Regions from separate parts of the Homo sapiens genome. Here region 2 is linked to region 1. The links are contacts of gene promoters, found by promoter capture Hi-C in human tissues and cell types (Jung and others, 2019). All regions are on one chromosome and are shown on one strand. The core of a region is centred on a gene start or on the middle of the fragment in contact, and the rest is flanking DNA. Distances in the headings are between cores, read along the strand shown. Region 1 holds the start of ETV5 (ETS variant transcription factor 5). Region 2 overlaps ST6GAL1 (ST6 beta-galactoside alpha-2,6-sialyltransferase 1).

Region 1 (6,677 bases), core at 237-2,736:
CCAACATTTCAAGGGCTATAAACGACAGACCAAGTGTCCGCTCTGTTTAAGAGACACAAGTGGAGATAGGAAAGAACCTTTGACTTAAGTGTGGGGGTGGCAGGGGCAGGAACTGCCCCAGAGTTGGCCACCGTGGGACCCCCATTGCTAGGGGCTCTCTCCTGTCACTTAGCATCTTTCCTCCCCACCGCTGGCACGCGGCGTGAATGGCAGGGCACTCCAGCAGGACGAGAACAGAGCTCCGTCACAGGCCCCCAGCATCCCCGGAGAGAAGATAGAGCCGCCCCACGGCCTTCACAGGAGGGGGTAAGGGGGCGGAGAGGGGAGAGGATTGTTTGTTTATTTGTTTCCTGGAACACCCTGTTAAGAATCTCAGCAATTGCAGTTAGTGCCCTATCGTTTGGCAAGCAGAGCCGCTTCTCGTCGTTCCCAGCTGCACGGGATCTAATTCGCAAATACACCATCTTGCATTCAATACTTAAATGGAAAACAAGCAGCCCGGGGAGGGAGGCAAAAAGTCTGAGTCTGCATGCCCGTTTCGGAGGGATTTAGGTTTCCAGGTCGGTGGACTGGCTGCTGCTGTCCCCGGAGAGGATTTCTTTGAGCCCGAACCCTGTCTCACCTCGACTACAGAACCCACTCTGGCGGAGGTTACGAGCCGCAGTTAAAGAGAAAACGGGATTTGGTTGGGTCTTAGGCCTTGCCAGTACAAAATAGTAACAAAAATCTGTTTGAGAGCTGAGATTTTAAAAGGAGATGCTGCTTATTCTTCCCACTGGAAACCTGGTTAAAAGAAATTAAGGCCTCTCTTAAAGGTAACTAAGATTAGAGGGCTCGGTTTCCGTTTTCTGTGTTTCTGTGGGCTAAACGCCCAGGTCGGTCAGCGAGTTTGTGTGGAATGACGAATTCCTCTCCCCTGAATTCTAAAATGATAACTTTGCTTGGTGCTGCAGCTGCGAACGTCTGGCGCCAAGAGACCCAATTCTGGTCGGGGCTTTGCTGGATGGAGAAGTGGGGGTGAGTGGGTAAGGGGGAAGAGTCGTGCCTCGGTGAAAAGTCGGGAGAGCGGCGAGAAGGGAAGTAACGGCGGCTCCTCCTGGCCTCGGCCCCTTTAAGTGCTTCACTGACTCAGCTAAGCTTCCCCCTCAGGTCGCGTTTTTTATGAATGAAAAACGTCCTTACATTCATTATATAAACAAGCCTGTGCTGATTGGCCAATGGCCCCCGGTGCATAAATTATGTAAAACAGACCCCTGAGGGGGTGGAGAGAGATGCACCGCTGGCCAATGGGGGCCGGAGTTGATGGGGCGGCTTGGTTGGATTTGCCCGCAGACAGGGTAAACAAGAGGTGATGGACAGCCGCGGGAACGGCCTCTGGCCAATGGGAACAAGGCTGGGCTAGGGCCGCGGGCCAATGGCGGCGGGCGGAGCAGCGAGCCGCGGGGGGCCGGGCCAGCGCTCCAGCCTGGTTGGCAGCTGCGGCGCAGAGTCCAGCCGCTGGTGCGCGGAGCGGTTCACCGTCTTCGGAGCGGTTCGGCCCAGCCTTTCGCCCAGGCGCCCAGGCCCGCTGCGCGCGTGCGTGAGCGCGCCTGCGCCGCCGGGGCCGCTGCAAGGGGAGGAGAGAGGCCGCCTCAGGTGAGGGGGCTTTGCGGGGGCAGGGGGGAGATCGGAAGGGGCGTCCGGCCACTGGTCCGACAGGCCCAGCCGGCTAGAGTTCACGGGCTGATTCAGAATCTTCAAAGTCGGGGTGCAGTAGCTGGGGTGACCCCCCCCGGGTTGACCGCCCCCTCCCCCCGCGGCCCGGTCCGGTTTGGTTCCTGGGAGGCGTCGGGCGGGTGCGGCTAACGGTTCCGGAGCGCGGGGAGAGCGGCTTTCCACACGTCGTGGGGGAGGCGCCCCGGAGCGCGAGTGCGGGGGCTCCCGAGTGGATGGGGGATCGCGGAGTTGCGAGGCTTTCACAGTCTCTGGAGATTCGAGAGCCCCGAGGGGACTTGGAGGCTCGCGAGAAGAGACGCTTGGCGGAGCTCCGCAGTTGGGAGGAGGGGGCGGGAAGCAGTTTGAGGGGAATGTCTGAGAGGCGCTGCCCCCCAGAGCACCGGGAGGGGGTAAATGACACAGGCAAGTGCAGCCTGCGGGGGCGGGGGTCGACCAGGAACTTACGCAGGCCTTGCAAGTTTCAGGTGGTGGAAAGTGGACATCCAGTCGCCCTGCTCCCACCCAGCAGGCTGAGGGCGTCCGGCTGTGCGGCGACTCGAGAAAATCGGGGCGCACCGGAACAGCGGCCTGGGGATGGTGGGGATAACACGGGTGTGGAGGGGACAGCACCGAAAGATGCTGCAGCCTCGCAGCGGATTAGGGTTCCGGCCGCATTTTCAGAGGGTGGAGAAAACTCGGGGGGGAACCGAACTCCTGGTCGACGAGGGGGTGCCAGGGAGAGATGTTGGGGGTGGGGGGATTGGAAGCGGTTGGTAGCGCCGGGCGCCGCACCTCGTTTTTATGAATGTGGGTGACTTTATGAATGAAGCGGGTTTCTTTCGTTGGCTCGCTGCTCCCTGCGGCTTTTTTTTTTTTCTTCCCTTTTTGTGAATGAAGCATTGAGCTTTCTTCCTAAAACGCTGGGGTGAGGGGCCTGCGTCGGAGGCTGGGCGTGCGTTGGAAATGGGGGCGGGGGCGCAGCTGAAGGAGTTTTCATGAATGGGGAAGGCTGAGAATTGGGTGGAAGTGTGTCTTGTTTTGTGAATGGGGCCCAGCGCTAGAGATCCAGTTACAGCCTCTACCTGATGTGGCGGCCGCGGCTCGCTCTCCCATTCATAAAACCGGGCCCGCTGCGCGCCACAGGGGAGGGGCCTGGATCGCGCCGCTGCGCTGTGCTAAAGTTTTCCTGGGGGCGCCCGGGGCGCGGGTGGTGGGGGGGCAAAGGAAGTGGTTTAAACTCCTGGATGAACTCGAGCCTTTCCTTCAGGCTTTTAAAAAAATTATACTTGGAATACAATTTTTCTAACCCTGGAATGCCTCTTTTCCGTTCGTTTATGGCAGTTTATTTCTTTTAATTTTTTAGAATTTTTTTTGCTCTTCCGGGTGAAGTATTTCATCATGAGACTGAAAAATATCTCCCCCTCCCGTCTTCTACTGGTTGTCCCCTTCCTCCTAACACATTCACAAAATGTCTTAGGCCATGATTTAATCTGACAGATTTTCCTAAGCGACAGAGCACTCTCTCTTTCATGCCCCTCAACTCACTGCTGAGGTTTCTCAGATTTTGTATACGGTTTGGTGGCATTTGAGAGAGGCGTTATTCTGAACATTTCTTGTGGTGTTTGGACGGGGCACGCAGGCAGGCTGGCGCGAGTGTTTTTCTAGGAAGTTATGAACTGTGTGCTATTTTGCTCCTCTCTTTCCTTTGACTTTGAAAATATCTGATTCCTTGGGCCAAAGTGCTGCGGAGGATGCTGGCTGTGAAGGGTGTCCTTGTATCCTGCCCACTTATGAAAAATTTGATATGCTACACACAGTGTGAAAAACAAATTGGATGGAATTGCTCACCGGGGGAAAAGTTTCCTGTTTAAAATTGTGTATATGTCAAACAAAAGAAGTTGACCTTTAAGCATTTTGAATTGCTTAGAGCTGGAGTGAGTGAAATTAATGTTTTTCCACCTTTTGTTGACTTAACGGTGTTTTTATTTGAAGAATAAAAGTGTTTAGGAAGATGGTACCTCCCTGAAATTGTTACTTTATTCCACTCACGTTAGGAGAAGTTTTCTCCCTTCTAACCCCACCCTTTTTCCCCAGACTCACACACTTACCCGTCCTGAAATGAGTTTCATTTGGGGGTGGGGGGGTATGTCTAGAAAAAAATGATTCCGCTATATGAAACAGCCTAAGTTTTAAAAGACCTTTGGTAGAGATGCATTGTACCACATGCAATGGAATTAGTTTTTTTAATCCATTACTTTTCATAGACATTTTACTCTTTTAGAAGTTGGAGATGTCACAAATATCTCTGTAAGTAACCAGGGAGATATTTGTGACATTACAGATGCTATATCTGTTTAGTCCTCTTTTAAATAAAGAGTTGTGTGTGAAGATAAGTATACCTCTGATCAATTTATTCCAGGAACTATATATAGTGTTTTAACAGTGACCTACAAAATGCTTTTGGAAACACCATGTATGTCAGATCTTTAATTGCCAATAATTTGGAATACTTAAACCCAGTTTCTCTGCTTCCTGACACTGTACTGTCAAAAATTAAATTATCTCTTTTTTAAAAACCCTACTACAAATGCCCTGGAGTATATGAGAGAATCTTGAAATCACCCTTTTATTTTATTTTATTTATTTATTTTTGTTTTGGTAGAGAACAGACAGTAGCAAATCTGTAATTTTAATGATTTAAATAAGAAAGAAAAAATGATGACTGGGTAAATGGATTTGGCACGGAGTACATCCTGTACCTCTGATACCATTAATCAAGCCCGGCATTGGTGTGTAAAGCTTGCACCTTGAGTAGGTTTTAAGTACTTCACAGAAGGGTAATAATTTTGCACAGGCCCTAAAAAAAAGGCAGTCTAAAATTGTTTCATTTCTTTTTTTCCCCCCTCTTAGTTAAAATCTCCCAAATTCATATTACAGGAGGATCCCTTTTCCCCCAGAAATTACTCAATGCTGAAACCTCTCAAAGTGGTATTAGAGACGCTGAAAGCACCATGGACGGGTTTTATGATCAGCAAGTCCCTTTTATGGTCCCAGGGGTAAGTTTATGTGGCTTTTGGTTTGTTTTGTCCTCCCTCTCCAATATGAGTCTTCCCCCTGTGGACCTCTTTACTACACTTGAGCCTTCACTTTCTGTTGGCCTCTTTCAGAAATCTCGATCTGAGGAATGCAGAGGGCGGCCTGTGATTGACAGAAAGAGGAAGTTTTTGGACACAGATCTGGCTCACGATTCTGAAGGTAGTAAAGCTTTCCCTGATTATGTTGTGGCTTCCCTGCTCCCAGTGACAGTAGCGTGTAGATTCTTCCCTGTCTTCTCCCTAGCGAAAGAAATATCCTCATTCTGGGGTCTTCTTTTTCAATTTCAGAGCTATTTCAGGATCTCAGTCAACTTCAAGAGGCTTGGTTAGCTGAAGGCAAGTTTCATGGATGTCCTATTTTCCATATAAAACATTTTACTGTGCTTTTTAATAAAACTTAAAGGTCTAAAATAAAAATCTATTTTCCAGCACAAGTTCCTGATGATGAACAGTTTGTCCCAGATTTTCAGTCTGATAACCGTAAGTACCTTTCTGGTGATGGCACATTTGTTCTGAAATTGTTTGGTCTTAGATCATCCATGTCTAGAATATGCTTTTTTCAGCTATGGCCAGATTTAGACAGTAGTATGCATTTAGTTTCTTCTAATAATTCAGAATTAACCCTGAAAACTTTTATTTCATAATAAAATTATTTCTAAAGTATTTCTACTGTATTGCAGGTAAGATTTACTGAACATAATTTTATCCTAAATTTCTTTTTACCTTAAGAATATTGTAAAGCTGACTGGGCACAGTGGCTCACACCTATAATCCCAGGGCTTTGGGAGGCTGAGGCAGGTGGATCACTTGAGGTCAGGCATTCAAGACCAGCCTGGCCAATATGGTGAAACCCCGTCTCTACTAAAAATACAAAAATTAGCCAGGTGTGGTGGTGGGCGCCTGTAATCCAAGCTACTCAGGAGGCTGAGGCAGGAGAATCACTTAAATCCAGAAGGCGGAGGTTGCAGTGAGCTGAGATCGCATCACTGCACTCCAGCCTGGGCAACAGAGCAAGACTCCATCTCAAAAAAAAAAAAAAAAAGAATATTGCAAAGCTTTAAGCTCAAAATTATAAATTAACTGACAAAATATATTTGGTGTTAGGCCAAGCATCTATTAATCACACATTGTTTTATGGCTTTTTTGGGGTTTGTTTTATAAATTAAGTCCTTGATGTGAATCATGAACCTGATATTTCTCTTTTTCTTAAAGGTGCAGAAAATAGTTAATGGAAAACTCCAGTTAACTTTGGCTTCATCCAACATGTTGTCAATTTTGTCTCTACCCCTAAGCTGACAAGGGGTGGTCACAGAGTGGCCTGATTTACTCTTACTTTTCGTGTAGTTGCTGTGGCTTTTCTCTTCAGAGAAGAGAAACTTTTTCTTAAAATGGCCACTAAGTGCTCATTACTAGAGAGAAAATGCAGTGGGAAGCTCAAAAGATGGCTTTCAACACTGGCAGGGGCATGGTTACTTTGCACTGATCTTTTGGGGCTGTCCTCAACAGGTTTGGGAGCTTTTATGGTCTAGGCAGAGTTATGAAGGACAAAGCCGGCTGATGAAATTTGAGCAGCACAGGGCTGCTCTAGAGAGCATTAGTCACTGGCGAATGAGCAGGTTTAAGAGAGGCCTGGAGAAAATGCTGCCTCTCTTGAGAGTTGCATCATAGAGAAATTCATGTCTCTTAGTCATAGTTTATAATAGCAAGCACCTGAGCCATGCAAGGACTCAATTTCTCATTTTGGACCAACAGATTCTTCCCAGCTTTGTTTTATCTCTGGGTAGGTGGGTGTATGTGTGTAAAAATGCCACTGGAGAGAGAGTATCTTAGGTCTCTCTCTAAGTAAAAAGTTGGGTATTCCAAATCTTTTAAATGTAAGAGCAGAGG
Region 2 (6,485 bases), core at 125-2,624, 870 kb before region 1:
CAATTCCTGCCCACAAAGAGTTTTGAGAGACAAACTTAGCGTACCTGAGACAGAAAACAAAGCAGCCAAATAAATGTAATTAGATTACTATTAAAAAGAGAGAATTGGGGCTGGGCGCGGTGGCTCATGCCTGTAATCCCAGCACTTCGGGAGGACGAGGTGGCTGGATCACCTGAGGTCAGGAGTTCAAGACCAGCCTGGCCAAAATGGTGAAACCCCGTCTCTACTAAAAATAAAAAAATTAGCTGGGCATGGTGGCGGGCGACTGTAATCCCAGCTACTTGGGAGGCTGAAGCAGGAGAAACACTTGAACCCGGGTAGCGGAGATTGCAGTGAGCCGAGATCACACCATTGCACTGCAGCCTGGGCAACAAGAGCGAAACTCCTTCTCGAAGAAATAAGACAGAGAGAATTACACACAGACACTTTTCAATTTACGATGTGATGCCATTATATCTGGATAAACCCATCCTAGTTAAACTTAGGGTATGTTCCCTTTGGTCTCAAGCTCAAGGTTGATTAAATGATACACGGTACATGCTCCCTTCCTCTCACTTCCTGTACTCAGTTGTCATCGCTCCTCAAAAGTAGTCAAATTCCTGGCCCTCAATATCTTTGCCATACTGCCCCATAGTTGAAGATACATATTCCCCCTAACTGTCTGCCATGATTCTTGGCATTACTGGGTCTTCACTGAGAGTCACGAGCAACCAACAATCTATCTTACTAAGAAATGACTTGACTAAGGTCATGCTTATCCACATGGAAAAAGGTTAGGAATGATGTGATGTTAGATGGGAATGTAGGGATCTGCCACCCTTTGATGCAATTTGTACATAGCTTTGCTCTGTATCACCAGTCAGGGTAACCAATCTCTAAATTTCTTCCTCACCAAAAAAGGAAGGACTTCCTATTATTCTAATGAGGCAAAATGGTATAAGCATAATAAGTGTTCATTTGTGAGCTACACAGACCTAGGTTTGAAGTCCAACTCCACTGCTAACCTAGGGAAATCTAGTTGAATTTTCTAGGCCCGTTTATTCATTTGTGAAACAATACCAGTGTGACCTGTATCATAGCGTGACTGCTATCATAGAGTTGTTAGGAGAATTAAATGAGAAAATAGATGTAAAGCACCCAGCACACAATCACTGTGCACAGTGGCAGCTATTATTATGGATTCTAACTCCCAGATAATCATGGGTCTTAGTAAAGGAGGTATTCAAGGGTGGTCATTCAGAGGGTTTCCTTCAGCTTTAAGCAGTGTTTTATAAAGTGCTCTTAGTCTGTAAGAAAGCTTCTGCTGAGTTTTGTCATCAAAGCTGAGGTTGGAAATAGGTCAATGGACCAGGATAAGGGTTGAGTCTTTCTCCCAGCTCTGATGGAACAATATTTCCTGACTGCCTTCAGTAATTTATATGCCCAAAAATGGACCTTGAGAATTCAAAAATAAGATAAGACTTGGAATGCTAATAAGAGATAACAAGACATCATCAGTCTCCCTGAGGAAAATGAAGTGCCTTAGTGTATTGGTGGCATGACAGCGGATCTAGATGCTCTGAAGCTACAGAGAAGACTTCATGCAGGTTACCCACGGTACAAGGCAGTAGTGATGGCCCTCAAATATCTGCTGTCTTCTACCTCTGCCATCCCTCTGTTAAAGCAAATAAGAAGGAGGCCGTTAGCCTGAGGTTGTCTCCATAACCAGAGCTTCTACATAAGCAAACCAAAATCCAAATCAATGTAAACAGTAAAATGTAACTAGAGGCTTCACCAATCAGAAACCACCAACTAACCTCTAACTAGGGTCTTCCCACTCTAATAAAATATATTTTCTTAGCCTTCTTTCCACGTTCAGCCTACAAAAGCTCACTGTCCTCACTGCGGCAGCAGAGCTCTCTGAACCTCTTCTGGTTCTGAGTGCTGTCCAATTCACACATGGTTCTTTGCTCAGATGAACTTTGCTACATTTATTTTCTCTAAAGTTTTTCTTTTAACACCTCCTGCCTTCTTCCTTGCTTTGCATAGCTGCTCTACTCCACCTCTTCTAGAATATTAACACACCCAAAGCCCTCCTCAGTGCACAAATGTCCTCTGCAGCTGCATGTATACAGCAGACACTGACTGAGGAATGGGTCCCTGAAGAACAGCTCAGCCATCACACCCAACACGTGATGGCACTGATTGCTTGACCACTAGTGACAGGGACCTATAAAGGCACACATCCCACTTGCAGATAGTTTTGAGTTTAGAGTATTAGAGTATAGATTCATTGATCCAGAATCTATTTCCCCTTGACTTCTATCTTTTTTTTTTTTTTTTTGAGATGGAGTCTCTGTCACCCAGGCTGGTGTGCAGTGGGGTGATCCTCACTGCAACCTCCACCTCCCAGGTTCAAGTGATTTTCCTGCCTCAGCCTCCCTAATAGCTGGGACTACAGGCACTTGCCACCTTGCCTGGCTAATTTTTTTTTTTTTTTTTTTTTTGTAATTTTAGTAGAGAATGGGTTTCACCATGTTGGCCAGGATGGTCTCGATCTCTTGATCTCGTGATCCACCTGCCTTGGCTTCCAAAAGTCCTGGGATTACAGGCGTGAGCCACCGCGCCCATCCGACCTCTATCTTTAAAATCTAGTGTCAGGACTAATAAGCTTTTTAAAGACGTATATTCTTTCACAATAAGCTGTCCTTTCAATTCATTTATATTATAATACTAACAGCTAACATTTCTTGAGGGCCAACCATGAGCCACAACTTACAGGCAGGAAGGCACAATATAGCGTTTCTTAAACTTGCCAGATCCTAGTATCATCCAGGGTGCCCGCTGCATCCACTGCTCCCCAGGCTCCACCCCAGCTGGGCTGAATCTGAATCTGAGACAGGGCCTGGGAATTGCTCTTTTAACAAGAGTCTCAGGTGATTCTTAGGATCAGGCAAATTGTAGACCAATGGCACAATGGTTAAGGTGTGACATATCAGGATCCATGATCTGATTCCATCATCGTTTGTTTTATGGCTTCAGGCAACTTACTTAACCTCTCTGAACCTCAGTTACGTATCTGGAATTTCAGAATGATGACAGCATCTGCCTGTAGGGTATACGGAGGAATAAATGAGATAATGGTCATCAACCACTTAGCATAATGCCTGGCACATAGTAAGCTCTCAACAGTATCACCAACATCACTGACCTGATTGGTGCTATAAAAGCTGCATCCCTATTATTTTTGCTCAGTGCTACACAATTAGCAATTAAAGTGCCCGAGACCAGGATTTAAACTCATACCTGACCATCTCCGAAGCATTAAGCACCTACACAGCAACTTCTCGGAAGCCTTGGCAGCAGGGGAAGGAGAAATTAAACAGGCAGGGGGCCCGGTGGCATAGAACAACCCACATATTCAGGTACTGGCTCCAAATTCATGTTTGAATTCAGCTCACGTTGCATTCTTAGGAGCAGCTATTACGCAGATGCTACAGCCAGAAGGATGCCCCCGAGCACTATGTATTAAGGAAGGAAAGTTTGTCTTGGACTTCCTCCTGTCTCTGTTTCGACTCCTCTTCTACCCCTACCCTCCTTTGGGGACCATCCAAAATCCCCACTTTTTCTCCAGGTCTGCCCAAGGAGTTCCTCTCTTGGGAAGCAGATCAGGCACAGAGTTTGAGTCTGGCCTGGAGAACAGGGAAGACCTAAGCTTCACTTCCCAACTGTAAGGCCTCCCACTGTTACTTCACCCCTGGGACCTTCTCTCAATAGGTCCTAGGCTCATTTGCAGTAATGCTCCAGGCAGAGTGCATAGCTCACTGGTCAACTAATCAATAACGCTAGGCCTCAGGGTATCACCTCTCCTTTCTCTGAATTCCCCCAACCTAACCTAACATTTCAGTTAAAGTGGGGCCACCTGTGACTCACACTTTATATACAGTTTGTTTTACAATGAGCCCTCATTCATTTGTTCACACAAATATGCCCCAAATACAGATGATACAGAAATAAATAGGGCCCAGCTCCTGCTGCTGAGGTCTTAGAGAAAAGACCATAAACTAGTGGGTGGAAAATCATGTAAAGCATTAAAAACTAAGGGCCGAGGAGGTGGTGCCAACTCTACTAGAGGAAGTCAGAAGTCAGAAAAGGTAAAGTTCATCCTGGGTTTTGAAGTTTGAACAGGAGTTCACCAAGCAGAGCAAGGCATGCCCAACAGAGAATAGCAGTGCAAAGGCTCAGTCATGAAAGTGGCCCATTGTGTTCAGGGATGGGGAGAAGCTGTGAGGTGGGACAGGGTATAAGGGCTGCAGTGATGAGAAATGGTCTTCGACAGGACATCTGCTCCAGACAGAGGTATTTCTAGTCCCAATTTATCCTGCAAGCAACTGGGACTGGTGGAGGTTTTCTAAGCAAGCAAATAACATTATTAGATTGTTTTCTCTAAACTCCGTGGTGTGCTCCCAGCACTAAAAAGGAGCTTTGATGGAGCACGAAGAGGTGAAGAGGGGCCATTTCCGTGAATAAAGGAAAGGGTGCCAGAGACCATCTTTTCTGGCTCCTGGTCTGGCCTGCAGCCCCACCATCCACCCAGCTAACCCCTGGCTCAGCAGATAGTGAACTCTGGTCAAGTCCCTCCTGGAACACCAGGCTCCAGAAGCTGTTAACAGAGTAACGTGGAGAGAGAGGAGTGGGAACCAACTGCACAGATAAACTGAGGAGGAGTCAGAGAAATATGATGTGTCTAGTGGCTCACAGCATCCTGAAAGGGGCAGGAGCTTCCAGCTAGATAGACTATGTTCAAATTCCACCTCTACCTTTACTACCTGGCATAACCTTGGGTAATTCCCTTAACCTCTCTGAGACTGTTTTTTCTTTTTTCTTTTATTTTTATTTTGACACGGAGTCTCGCTCTGTCACCCAGGCTGGAGTGCAGTGGCATGATCTCAGCTCACTGCAACCTCTGCCTCCTGGGTTCAAGCGATTCTCTAGCCTCAGCCTCCCAAGTAGCTGGGATTACAGGTGTGCGCCACCACGCCTGGCTAATTTTTGTATTTTTAGTAAAGATGGGGTTTCACCATGGCCAGGCTGGTCTCGAACTCCTGACCTCAGGTGATCCTCCCACCTTGGCCTCCCAAAGTGCTGGGATTACAGGCATGAGCCACCACGCCCGGCCGAGACTGTTTTCTTATCTATTAAATGGCAATAACAAGTCCCATTCACTTCAAAGGCTTGTACTGAAAATTAAAACTATTTCAAGTGATGAGGATAGTGACCACTACAAGGAATAATGGCTCTCTAAATATTATTAAACTGATTATTAATATCTTCATTTTTATTTTATGTGTCTTTTATATGATGTGATAAAATCCCTCAGGCTAAAAGATCTTCAAATACAGCAGGCCCCTGGAGGCACGGGATGGAATTAGCCCTCCTGAGGCGCTCAGAGGACGGCTGTGTCTCCTGCGTGAGACTGATCAGTTCCTTCCAAGTTGCCTTCCGCCCTCCTTGGCTGCCTGCAGTTTCTGTAGGATCATATTTCCCACCTGACCCAGTGGGCCCAGGAGAGCTGTGGGCCTTGTAGCTCTGAGCTTTTCAGAGGTCTCACATGACAACCTGGCAGGGTGCAGCTGTTCCCGGCAAGGGCATTAATAATACAGGCCTTCTTCCGCAAACTCTGGCCAACAGTCTAAAATGACAAGTGAAAACACTGAGTCCAAATTCTCCCTGGGGCTTAGGGCAGAGGAAGCCAAAATAGCTCGCCTTTATCAGGGCTAAATCGTGGAACTAAATCAGGGTTCTGCTAGCGGTGGTGGCTAAGGGAAACCGCTGGTGATAAAAGCAAAGAAATGGGGGAGAAGCCGTGGGGGAGGGAGCCACAGTCACACTCCTTACAGAATAAACTATCTCGCCTAGGGGCAGTTTCAGCAGAAGGCTTCAGAGACCCCCGGAAGCAGACAGAAAGAAGTCCACATGCCTTGCTGGCTGAGGAGCAAATCGGGTCATGAATTTCATCTCAGCAATAGCCAATAAACACAGCAGCTGCTATACCCAGCCCTGAGACATCTAGCACAGGAGACTTTATAAAGAACAAGCCGATCTCCTCTGGCAAGCAAGCCACAAATGGAGAAGGTCTTGGCAGGATTTTTGTGTCCTTTATTCATATGGTATCAGCACCTAAAACAGTGCCTGGCATTAAAGCACTAGGTAAATATGAGTGACTGAAGAAATACATGCGTGGGGAGAGAATATAAACCAGCAGCACCAGTTAGTAACTATACAAAGGTAAGCAAGCCATTCAGTCTCTAGGAGCCTCTATTTCTTCATCAGGAAAATAGGGTAATGACACCTACTTTGAAAGGGTCTTATAAGAATTAAGGCCGGGCACAGTGGCTCATGCCTGTAATCTCAGCACTTTGGGAAGCCAAACTAGGTGGATCACTTGAGGTCAGGAGTTTGAGGCCAGCCTGGCTAACATGGTGAAACCCTGTCTCTACCAAAAA

What was found. The method cuts DNA at HindIII sites, captures the fragments that hold promoters and counts their contacts. A contact is called where the count stands out against the background at its distance.
Region 2: a contact is called between a fragment that was not itself captured here and the fragment with the promoter of ETV5 in region 1, in 1 of the 25 tissues and cell types used here (stomach).

What each region holds. Positions count from the first base shown.
Region 1 is chr3:186,103,898-186,110,574 of GRCh38, reverse strand. ETV5 (ETS variant transcription factor 5) reads left to right here and starts at 1,486. Exons shown (of 13, transcript NM_004454.3): 1 at 1,486-1,635; 2 at 4,633-4,751; 3 at 4,863-4,950; 4 at 5,079-5,126; 5 at 5,220-5,270. The coding sequence starts at 4,707. RefSeq lists silencers at 1,174-1,803, 1,834-1,933 and enhancers at 967-1,945, 2,704-2,763. The HindIII fragment of the contact is 3,753 bases long and covers 1-2,816 here.
Region 2 is chr3:186,976,605-186,983,089 of GRCh38, reverse strand. The region is part of intron 2 of ST6GAL1 (ST6 beta-galactoside alpha-2,6-sialyltransferase 1); the gene reads right to left. Among named protein-coding and RNA genes, the nearest start is that of ST6GAL1, 49 kb to the right of the region's middle. The HindIII fragment of the contact is 3,597 bases long and covers 1-3,172 here.